Regions from separate parts of the Homo sapiens genome. Here region 1 is linked to region 2. Evidence: promoter capture Hi-C in 16 types of primary human blood cells and fetal thymus (Javierre and others, 2016). All regions are on one chromosome and are shown on one strand. Each heading gives the region's core, a stretch centred on a gene start or on the middle of the fragment in contact. The rest is flanking DNA. Distances are from core to core; before and after follow the strand shown. Region 1 overlaps TRIM37 (tripartite motif containing 37). Region 2 holds the start of PPM1E (protein phosphatase, Mg2+/Mn2+ dependent 1E).

Region 1 (6,022 bases), core at 18-2,517, 290 kb after region 2:
GGCGGATCACGAGGTCAGGAGATCGAGACCATCCTGGCTAACACGGTGAAACCCTGTCTCTACTAAAAATACAAAAAATTAGCTGGGTGTGGTGGCAGGCACCTGTAGTCCCAGCTACTCAGGAGGCTGAATCAGGAGAATGGCGTGAACCCAGGAGGCAAGCTTGCAGTGAGCCAAGATTGCACAACTGCACTCCAGCCTGGGCGACAGAGCGAGACTCCATCTCAAAAAAAAAAAAAAAATCAGCCAGTTCTTCTTAGAAAGCTAAGAAAAAAAGGAATTTAAAAAAAAAAAAAAAAAAATATATATATATATATATATATATATCTCAAGGCCGGGCGCAGTGACTCACGCCTGAAATCCCAGAACTTTGGGAGGCTAAGGTGGGAGGATCACCTGAGGTCAGGATTTCGAGACCAGCCTGGCCAACATGGCAAAACCCTGTCTCTCCTAAAAATACAAAAATTAGCTGGGCGTTGTGGTGGGGACCTGTAATCCCAGCTCCTCGGGAGGCTGAGGCAGCAGAATCGGTTGAACCCGGGAGGTGGAGGTTGTAGTGAGCCAAGATTGCACTACTGCACTTCAGCCTGGACGACAGAGCGAGACTCTGTCTCAAGGAGGACAGGACAGGACAGGAAAGGAAAGGAAAGGAAGATTAAAAAAAAAGAACTGTGTCAGGCAAAAAAATAGAAATAAATGAAACACTAAAAAATCTAAGAACCACTATTAGAAGAGATTAATCTCTCCTATTTAATTAGTGTTAGAAACACTAATAAATACAAGAACCACTGTTAGAAGAAATTACAGCTTCAGAGAACTGGTAGCTTAATGGCAATAAGCTTAAAACACTACATGTAGTGTTAGGCTTAAAACACTACATTTTAACATCCAAAAAAAGCCCAAATTACTGTATATGACTAAATACCATTTTTCAAAAATAATATTTCAGCAAAGAGGGTATTACTTCCTACTCGGCCATACAAAGTCTCTCATGTTAAAAAACAATCACTATTACTTTATTTTAAACAACATACTACTTGAAACAGTACCAGTCAATGACAGTCTTGGGTATTTAAGGAAATCTCAAGATAAGCACCCAGCTTGACAATGTAAGGAGCTCTGTAGGTCTGCTCTTTAGTCAAACTGGTGACAATTATTTTAAAAACAACCACTTAACGACTCTGGAAATGGTCCCAAGGGCATACAGCAAATGAAGAAACATCTACTCAAAAAAATCTATAAAAACTGGGTAAGACAAGTGGGCATCTGCAGTATTTGAACCAAGATCACTCCACTTCCTAACTTGGTGTTACAGAAATTCCACTCCAGACTGGTGCAGTGAAGAACACAGGCCTCCCACTTCCCGAACTTCCAAGAGGAGGGCTATATTCCTGGGAGTGGCAAGGTATCAGCATCTCTCATTCTGCCCCCAGCTACCTATTGCTGATGCTATAGTACAGGCACACACGGCCAAGAGGTGGAGACTCCCTTCTGCTGAGACCCACTTGTGGACTAGATGCTCTACCTGGATGCAGCATGATGAGAATACTGGGGCCCAGATCATCCCTGCCCCAGCTTATTCATAAGGTGGAGGTCCCAAGCCTGAAAAGGAAAGAACTAAGGCTACTGTCCCCAACATCCAGTTAGCTCAGCTTCTAAAGTAAGAGAGGTACACCTTTATCCTTACTCCAACTTCAAAGCTTTGGCTCAGAGATTTTGCCTATGGGGAGAAGCAGAGACACATACAACACTCAGAGAAACATACAACACTATTAAGAGCATCAACGAAATATAGTTGGCCTTCTTTATCTGTGGGCTCTGCATCTGTGCATTCAACCAACTGTGGATCAAAAATATTTTTTAAGCCCTGGTGTGGTGGTTCATGCCTGTAATCCCAGCACTTTGGGAAGCCGAGGCTGGAGGGACTTCTTGAGCCTAGGAGCTCCGGGCCAGCCTAGAACATAGTAAGGCAACATAGTGAGACCCTGTCTCTACAAAATATTAAAAAATTAGCCAGGTGTGTTGGCATGCACCTGTAGTCCTAGCTACTTGGAAAACTGAGGTGGGAGGATCACTTGAGCCCAGGAGGTCGAGGTTGCAGTGAGCTGTGATCACGCGACCACTGCACTCCAGCTTGGGTGACAGGGCAAGACCCCGTCTCAAAAAATAAAGCCGGCCGGGTGCTGTGGCTCACCTGAGGCCAGGAGTTCAAAACCAGCCTGGTCAACATTGCAAAACCCTGTCTCTACTAAAACTACAAAAAATTAGTCGGGCGTAGTGGCAGGCGTGTATAATCCCAGCTACTCAGGAGGCTGAGGCAGGGGAACTGCTTGAACCCAGGAGACGGAGGCTGCAGTGAGCTGAGATTGTGCCACTGCACTCCAGCCTGGGCGACAAGAGCGAAACTCCGTCTCAAAAAAAAATAAATAAAACAAAACAAAATAAAGTCATGCGCAGACATTTTCCCCTTGTCATTATTCTGTATACAATAGAGTATAACAACTACTTACATAGCATTTGCATTGTATTAGGTATTATAAGTAATCTAGAGATGATTTAAAAGTATAGGGGAGGATGTGCATAGGTTATATGCAACTACTCTGCCATTTTATATAAGATACTTGAGCATCCTCAGATTTTAGTATCCAAGGGCGGGGTCCTAGAACCAATACCGCAAGGATACTGAGGGACAACTGTACTAGCAAACAGAATGCAGTAACATATAAAAAGAATCATGAGCCGAGTGTGATGATGCACACCAGTAGTCCTAGCTACTATGGAGGCTGAGGCAGGTGGATCACTTGAGGCCAGAGTTGAAGGTTACAGGGAGCTATAATCATGCCACCATACTCCAGCCTGGCCACAAAGCCAGATTCTCTTAGGAAAAAAAAAAAATTGCTGGGTGCCGTGGCTCATGCCTGTAATCCCAGCACTTTGGGAGGCCGAGGCAGGCAGATCACAAGGTCAGGAGATTGAGATCATCCTGGCTAACACGGTGAAACCCCATCTCTATTAAAAATACAAAACAAAATTAGCCGGGCAAGGTGGTGGGCACCTGTAGTCCCAGCTACTTGGGAGACTGAGGCAGGAGAATGGTGTGAATCCAGAAGGCGGAGCTTGCAGTGAGCGGATATTGCGCCACTGCACTCCAGCCTGGGGGACAGAGCGAGACTCCGTTTCAAATAAAAAAAAAAGAAAAAAAAAATTACGGCTGGGCGAAGTGGATCACACCTGTAATTCCAGCACTTTGGGAGGCCAAGACGGGTGGATCACGAGGTCAGGTGTTTGAGACCAGCCTGGCCAACGCAGTGAAACCTCGTCTCTACTAAAAATACAAAAAATTAGCTGGGTGTGGTGGTGGGTGCCTGTAATCCCAGCTACTTGGGAGGCTGAGGCAGGAGAATCGCCTGAACCCGGGAGGCGGAGGTTGCAGTGAGCCGAGATCATGCCACTGCACTTAAGCCCGGGTGACAGTGCGAAACTCCGTCACAAAAAAAAAAAAAAGAAAAAAGAAAAAAAATTACACACTATGACCAAGTGGGATGTGTCCCAGGAATGCAAGCTTGGTTTAAAAATCCAAAAATCGCCAGGCACAGTGGCTCACACCTGTAATCCTAGCACTTTGGGAGGCTGAAGTGGGCAGATCACCTGAAGTCAGGAGTTCAAGACCAGCCTGGCCAACATGGTGAAACCCCGTCTCCACTAAAAATACAAAAAAATAGCCAGGCGTGGTGGTGCACGCCTGTAATCCTTGCTACTCGGGAGGCTGAGGTGGAAGGATCACTTGAACCCAGGAGATGGAGGTTGCAGTGAGCCAAGATCGTGACACTGCATGCCAGCCTGGGTGACAGAGCAAGACTCCATCTCAAAAAAAAAAAATTATCCACATTAATGAAATTCATTAGTTCATCAATTAACAGGGCAGAAGGAAAAGCTCTTCCTTAAATTGCAACTAATGAATGAGTAAGAAATAATGGAATTAGAAAAACACCACTTGGCAATCAACACAGTAACCTTTTTCAGGCAACACTCATCAAAGGGTGTCAAAATTCATAGGAAAAAGTAGGATGAAAAATAGGATATTTACAGTCCCATACATAAGATACTTATTAATTATAAAGGAAAAAGTACAAATTTTGGAGTGAAGAAACCTGGCGGATGCTACCTCAACTAAGTGATCAAAATTAACCACAAGTAATGGGACATACTGACATCATGCTCCACTCTGTATGACGCAGTGAAAAGGATACATTATCATTTCCGTAGTATCCCTGCCAAAAGTGTGTAACCTCTATCTAATCATGAGGAAACTTCAGACTAATCCAAACTGAGGGACTTTCTACAAAATAAACTATTCTGTATTTCTCAGAAAGTATTAGTCATGAAAAACAGTTTTTTTTTTTTTTTGAGACAGAGTCTCAACTGTCGCCCAGGCTGGAGTGCCGTGGCGTGATCTTAGCTCACTGCAAGCTCCGCCTCCCGGGTTCACCCCATTCTCCTGCCTCAGCCTACCAAGTAGCTGGGACTACAGGCGCCTGCCACCACACCTGGCTAATTTCTTTTTTGTATTTTTAGTAGAGACGGGGTTTCACCGTGTTAGCCAGGATGGTCTGGATCTCCTGACCTCGTGATCCACCCGCCTCAGCCTCCCAGAGTGCTGGGATTACAGGCGTGAGCCACCGTGCCCAGCCGAAAAACAAATTTTTAAAAAAGTAACCCAGATTGGCCAGGTGCGGTGGCTCACGCCTGTAATCCCAACACTTTGGGAGGCCGAGGTGGACGGATCATGAGGTCAGGAGATCAAGACCAACCTGGCTAACACGGTGAAACCCCGTCTCTACTAAAAATACAAAAAATTAGCTGGGCGAGGTGGCGGGCGCCTGTAGTTCTAGCTGCTCGGGAGGCTGAGGCAGGAGAATGGCGTAATCCGGAAGGTGGAGCTTGCAGTGAGCTGAGATCATGCCACTGCACTCCAGCCTGGGCGACAGAGCGAGACTCCGTCTCAAAAAAAAAGGAAAAAAAAAAAAGTAACCCAGATTGAAGATAACTAAATCGATTTAACAATTAAATGCAACATGATCCTGACAAAGGACATTACTGGCAAATTTTTAGAAGGTTACAGTATTACATCAATGTTAATTTCCAGATTTTGATAACTATTCTATAGTTATGTAAGAATATCCTTGTTTTTAGAAAAGTACACAATGAGAAGTATATTCGATCTCAAGTGTTTCAGAAAAAATTATATACAGAGAAATATAAAGCAAAATATTCATAGGGAATGAATCTGTGTGAAGGAAACATGAAATTCTGAACTTTTCTTAAGTATAAAATAATTTCAAAATTCAAATTTAAAAGTTAAAACACAAACAAAAATTATTGGCTAAGAGCCCAGAGATTAGAGAGAGAAAACTGACTATTGATTCAATCTTTCAAAAAAGTGCTGAATATCCCTACATTTAAGTGTGAGTTAGTTAATATGCTTCTAATAATTACCACTTAAATGCTTTACAGTAGTAAAGTGGGAAACTCACATAGTTTCTTCATCAATATCATTTTCTTCTGTATTACTTGTTGCTGTGGAACTAGCAGAGGAACTGCTGCCATCGAGCTGATTTACTTCATCCTCATAAACAAGATCCAGATCCAGATCTCCATCTGAAAGCTCGTGCTAGATCAATGCCAAGAAAACAAGACGTCTATTCCAAATGTTTCTACTCAGTTGATCACCCCATCCAGCCCATAAACCAAGCACCAAAGAATAATACAGTTTTCAAAAATCTATTTTCTGCTCCTGTGCCTCAGCTGCTGAGCCCTGTAGAGAAAAATCACACAACCACACTGACTGATATCATTTTACTAACTTATGCGTGCCGCCTTCAGCTGGGCCCTCAGTGTGACTGGAATCCTTCACATATTCCACATCAGCTTCCTCACAGAGTAACGTTTCAAACCATCACTCCTCAATTCTACCTAATTTTACCATTATCAAGGTCATTAATTAACACTGTCACCTATCTGC
Region 2 (5,920 bases), core at 2,384-4,883:
GGAATTGCTGGGTCATGTAAGAAACTGCCAAACTCAACAATTCTTTTTAACCTTATAAATGTCATTACTATGAATGTCCACAAAAGGACATTGTACATTTCCTCCAAAGAGCAAAGGGTTAGAGGGAGAATAATTTTTATGAGAAAAACTTTAAAAATTTGATACCTTAAAAATACGTTAAACTTTTCATAACAATATTTTTTTTCCTTTTTATTTTTTATTTATTTATTTTTTTTCTGAGACGGAGTCTCGCTCCGTCACCCAGACTGGAGTGCAGTGGCGCGATCTTGGCTCACTGCAAGCTCCGCCTCCCGGGTTCACGCCATTCTCCTGCCTCAGCCTCCCAAGTAGCTGGGACTACAGGCGCCCGCCACCACGCCCGGCTAATTTTTTGTATTTTTAGTAGAGATGGGGTTTCTCCGTGTTAGCCAGGATGGTCTCGATCTCCTGACCTCGTGATCCGCCCGCCTCGGCCTCCCAAAGTGCTGGGATTACAGGCATGAGCCACCGCGCCTGGCCTCCTTTTTAAAAAATATATTTTAGGGACAGGGTTTTTCTTTGTTGCCCAGGCTGGTCTTGAACTCTTGAGTTCAAGCTATCACAGCCTCACAAAGTGCTGGGATTACAGGCGTGAGCCACCATGCCCAGCCCTCAATATTTTTTAATAGATAGTATGCAAGGGGATTAGAAAAGTGTAATAAGAAAGGAGTTGAAAAAGAGAGCAAACTAATGCAAAATAATTACTAAAGACTTCTTGACAATGGCAAAATCATCCTACACAGCTGCTCTGAGATCTCAGCACTTGCTGTCAGCTACCTTCTGGCAAAGCTACTTTGTCAAATGGATGCAATAGGATCCATATTGATCTTTGTGAAGGAATATCTTTATTAATATAAGCAAACACGCCTCTCACTTATAGTAATGTAGAGGTGTGGGCTTTTTCTTTTAGTAGTATTGTTTCCCCAACATATATCACTTTCCTTTGAAATGTGGGCTGAGTCATAAATTAATGTCACAAATGAGGGAGGCAACTATGTTACAAAGTAGGAAGGCGTAGATATGAATTGTTACAGTTGACAGCTAAGTACTCTTGAACTAAATGTCATTATGTCAAATTCTGAGATATTAAACAATTGTTGAAATGTAAAATTGTGGACATTTAGGTTTGCAGCCTAAAAAGTTTTGTCAATCTTTTCTAGACATTCTGAAATGGAAATGAACAGGTGGATTGAAAACAAAGACAAATGAGGAGTTTAAAGACTTTCTTGGCACCTCATAGAGAAGTTGCTCTACGCTGGTTATGTTTTAAACAAAACACATATAAATACATTCAGCATTTCTGGAAACAGATTTATTAGATCTTTCCATTTACCTTTGGGAAAAAAATATAGAGGACTCAAGGCAATTATTCACTATATTCTTTCTATCATGTATTATTTAATCTCAAGCTAGGAGAGGAACTCTGTTTTACATGATGCCATAATGTACATTAGTGAGCTCAACCCACTTAATCTTAAAATAACAGTATCAGGTCAGGGATTTAGAATACAGTATTATATGAAAACAGTTGGCAGAGAGACTCCCTCTTCTGCCATTAATAACTGGAAACGATATTTCAGACCCTAAATCCAACTGAAACCCAGAAACAATACATGGAGAGGATGGGGTGGATAATTTGTGAGAACATGTTTTTCAAAGTAGAGAAAGAATCACTATGTTTTTGCTGAATTATATGTTGCCATGGACATGGCAGTTTGCAGTAATGATGCTATCATCTATACAGCTGTATAACAACACAGCTTCTTTCTCTCCCACTCCTTCAGTAAGGCTTAAAAATAATAGGTTTGTGTGTAGTTTGGTAAGAAAATTAGAATCACTTAAAGTCATTTCAATTCCAACCCAAGAAAGAAAAAAAGAGACTTGGGGGGATGGGGAAGAAGAGCAAACAAAATGTAGAAAAAATACATATTATTGGCCGGGCACGGTGGCTCACGCCTGTAATCCCAGCACTTTGGGAGGCCAAGGTAGGCGGATCATCTGACATCAGGAGTTCGAGACCAACCTGACCAACATGGTGAAACCCTGTCTCTACTAAAAAGACAAAAAAATTAGCCGGGCGTGGTGGCACATGCCTGTAATCCCAGCTACTCAGGAGGGTGAGACAGGAGAATCGCTTGAACCCAGGAGGCAGAGGTTGCAGTGAGCCGAGATCCTGCCATTGCACTACAGCCTGGGCAACAAGAGCAAAACTCCGTCTCAAAAAAAAAAGAAAGAGAAAAGAAAAAATACATATTATATAATGAAGTATAATATGCATTATGCAGAGACTAAAGAGGGGAGTCTTGGTTGCCTGAAAACTAATGGGTAAAATCCATTGAAGTGGGTGAATCCAGTGAAAAGACCTGGATTGAGTCCTTGTTGCATCCCTTGCATGTGACCTTGAGCAAAGTCACCATGTCTTTAAGGCTGTTTTCTCACCTATAAAATGGAATAATTGGCCGGCGTGGTGGGTCACACCTGTAATCCCAGCACTTTGGGAGGCTGAGGCAGGCAGATCACCTGAGGTCAGGAGTTTGAGACCAGCCTGGCCAATATGGTGAAACCCCGTCTCTACTAAAAATACAAAAGTTAGCCGGGGGTGGTGGCAGGCCCCTGTAATCCCAGCTACTTGGGAGGCTGACGCAGGAGAATCACTTGAACCCGAGAGGCGGAGGTTGCAGTGAGCTGAGATCGCGCCACTGCACTCCAGCCTGGGTGACAAGAGCGAGATTGTCTCAAAAAAAAAAAAATCATAACGGTAACGTCCTATACCTCAAGGGACTGTGGTAAGAATTAAAAGGGTGAAATCAATGTGTAAACTATGAAGCCCAATAGAAATAAGGTGTTATACAGACAATTGCACTATTGAATCTCCGGAGACAGAGTTGAGTTAAGGAAAAATGCACTTTCGGAAAGCTTTGGCGACTGAACGACCTGAGTTCTCCAACGCCAAGGCTGGAAGTTTGGAGACCTTGAAACAAGTAAATTACCATTAATATCATAATTTTCAGTTTCCTTTTAAGAAATGAGAGTAACACCACTTTCTTCACAGAATCAAGTGAGAGAGAACCTATGCAAAGGAACTTATCACTTGGTAGGTATTTGAAGCTCCCTCTGCCTGAAAACTACTTATTCAAAGACTGCAACAAAAGGTGTTCACAGTGTGGTATCTTTCAAAACATACGCTAAGGCAAGGAACAGATAAGGAAATGGAAGTACATCCAATTGGGATCCAAGCAACCCAAGTGGGAACCAACAGCTAGACTTGGAGATGTCTTAGCTCACTCTTAACCACGTGAGGGTAGGGTATCCAACCAATAAAGACATTCAGAGTTGGAGAGCGGGCGAGTGGAGTGTCCTTTAGACTCCGCGGACTCGACGGGAGGGACCCTGCAATGCTTAATTAGAACCGGTTGCCATGGCGACAGTCTCTAGGCAGCGTGGGCTGAGCTCTCCGTAGGAATAAAGGGTGGGCCGCCGCTGGACCCTGCGCGCGCCCGCCACCAACTTTCCCTCCAGATCCGAGAGGGGCGGCGCGCTCCGCCCCCGGGCCGCGCACGTCGGTGCTCGGCGGCGCGCACGCCTGCGGGAGCCCTCTCCAGGCAACCTAGTGCTGATCGCTCGTGCCGGTGCGGCCGTTAACCGCCCTTGCCGGAGCCCTAGGCTCAAAAGCAGCCCCTTACCCTTCCTGGGCTTCCCCCAACCCCTTTCCCGGTCTGCCCTGGGGCATGAGCAGCGATGGCCGGCTGCATCCCTGAGGAGAAAACTTACCGGCGCTTCCTGGAGCTATTCCTGGGCGAGTTTCGCGGACCGTGCGGCGGCGGCGAGCCGGAGCCGGAACCCGAACCCGAACCCGAACCCGAACCCGAGTCCGAGCCCGAGCCCGAACCTGAACTGGTAGAAGCTGAGGCGGCCGAGGCTTCGGTAGAGGAACCCGGGGAGGAGGCGGCCACGGTAGCCGCGACGGAGGAGGGGGACCAGGAGCAAGACCCGGAGCCCGAGGAGGAGGCGGCGGTTGAGGGTGAGGAGGAGGAGGAGGGCGCGGCGACGGCGGCGGCAGCCCCGGGGCACTCGGCCGTGCCGCCGCCGCCGCCCCAGCTGCCGCCTTTGCCCCCGCTCCCGCGACCGCTGTCAGAGCGCATCACCCGCGAGGAGGTGGAGGGCGAAAGCCTGGACCTGTGCCTGCAGCAGCTCTACAAATAGTTAAGTAGCTGGGCTTGGCTGGTGGTGGGCCCGCGGTCCCCACCGCGCCGGCCTCGGACGCGGCTCCCTCGGCCCCTCAAACTGCTCTCTTTTCTGCTCCTCTCCCCCGCACCCGCGCCTGCCGCCGCTGAAAGCGCCCCCGCTGCTCGGACCCGGGCGGTCGGCTGAGAGCTGCCCACGCCCGCCTCGGCCCCCACGCCCGCCTCGGCCCCCACGCCTCCTACCCGGCCTTGAAGCCGCTCTCCTGAGCCCCGGCGCCCTCCCGCCGGGCCCGGGCCCCTCATCCCCTTTCACCTCGGCCCCCAGCTTCTAGCTCCACTTCACGCAACCTTTCCCTTTCCTGCCTGGAAAGGTCCTTCCTCCCAGGCTTGAGCTCCCTCTTCTTCCCAGATCCCTTCTTTCTCCGGGAGGTTTCCTCCCACCCCAGTCTGTCTTTTCCCGGGCTGAGTGCCTTGTTGTTTGGCGGCAGAGACGCGACTCCTTTCTAGACTGAGCTGCGAGGTGCCTCCTGCGTAACTGCAACAATGATGGTTATACCGGCCCCGTATCCAGATGAGAGAATGGAGTAGATTTTCCGTCAGGTGCTCAGTGTTGAAAGTGAAGGGCTTTTTAGATGTTTTCACACAGGGAAGCCTAGTCTCTTAGTTTAGACATTTGACATTCCATAATTGAGGGAAGTGGGAAGGAATTGAGAGGGAAGGGTAAGCAAAATTTTGCAAGCAAGCCTTCGGGTGAAAGAGCCATAATTCATTAAAGTGGAAAAGTCAGGCTGTTTTGATTAAATTGCAATTAGGTGCAGTATTTTCAGTCCATTAAGTAGATGGGATGGGGTGGGGAGAAAGCAGATGGCTTAGCTACACAGATGAAAGTCTAAAATAGAAAGGTCAAGGCTTTGCCTTTCATCCCAGTTCTGGTTTTTATAGGCCTGAAATAGAAACGGTTTACAATTGCGTTTCTCAATGGAATTGTTCCGAAATAATGACAGAGGAGAATACTAGTAAGTCTCTGAAAACATTGGTAAACCTGGGAAGTCTTTTGCCATTCAGCTGATAGTTGTAATGAAAGGTGTTACTCTGGCCACCCAAAAAGTTTACTACTGCAAGATTCGCTGTAATTAAGTTCAAACTCACTTTTGGGATTTTCTCAAAAGCCTAAAGAAAAGAAGGGCCTGGAAAGTAAACCTGTTTTGTCTTCATCCAAGCTAATAGACACCTGATCAGATCATTCTCCTGTTAAAGCAGCAGTTTATCAATAGGGGAAAATCATTTAACAAATCTTCCATAGAAGTGGACTGTGTTGGTATTTCATAATATAAGCTATCTAAAATTTAATTTTAAAATACTGTTCAATTACAGTATTACCGTCAATTAGCAAGGTAATGATGCTTTTTGAGAAACGTAAAATATAAAATGGCGTGTAATACCACCACCCAGAGATAAACAGTATTAACATTTTAGAGTATATCTGGTCTTTGTGAACTATCATAGACAAGGGCTTCTGAGATGTAATTTTTTACAGTATTTAAAGATAAAGCTCCCTGCTTAAAATAAAATGGAAATGTTTATTAAGGGAATTTATCTTAGCAGCAGACTGGCTCTATCTTGACAGTTAATTCTTACCTTTACAAATGCAGTTTGCAGAATTAAACCAATTCAAACTTTAGAAAGTGTCCAAATAA

Evidence for each region. The method cuts DNA at HindIII sites, captures the fragments that hold promoters and counts their contacts. A CHiCAGO score of 5 or more calls a contact.
Region 1: a fragment that was not itself captured here is called in contact with the fragment with the promoter of PPM1E in region 2 in 2 of 17 cell types (M0 macrophages and M1 macrophages); the score reaches 6.5 in M0 macrophages.

Annotation. Positions count from the first base shown.
Region 1 is chr17:59,042,149-59,048,170 of GRCh38, forward strand. TRIM37 (tripartite motif containing 37) reads right to left here. Exons shown (of 24, transcript NM_015294.6): 16 at 5,535-5,671. Among named protein-coding and RNA genes, the nearest start is that of TRIM37, 62 kb to the right of the region's middle. The HindIII fragment of the contact is 861 bases long and covers 838-1,698 here.
Region 2 is chr17:58,752,221-58,758,140 of GRCh38, forward strand. PPM1E (protein phosphatase, Mg2+/Mn2+ dependent 1E) reads left to right here and starts at 3,634. Exons shown (of 7, transcript NM_014906.5): 1 at 3,634-4,241. The coding sequence starts at 3,778. It overlaps LOC105371843 (a long non-coding RNA gene), which reads right to left and starts at 3,890. Exons shown (of 3, transcript XR_007065866.1): 1 at 3,811-3,890. RefSeq lists silencers at 3,453-3,642, 3,642-3,790. The HindIII fragment of the contact is 8,580 bases long and covers 2,954-5,920 here.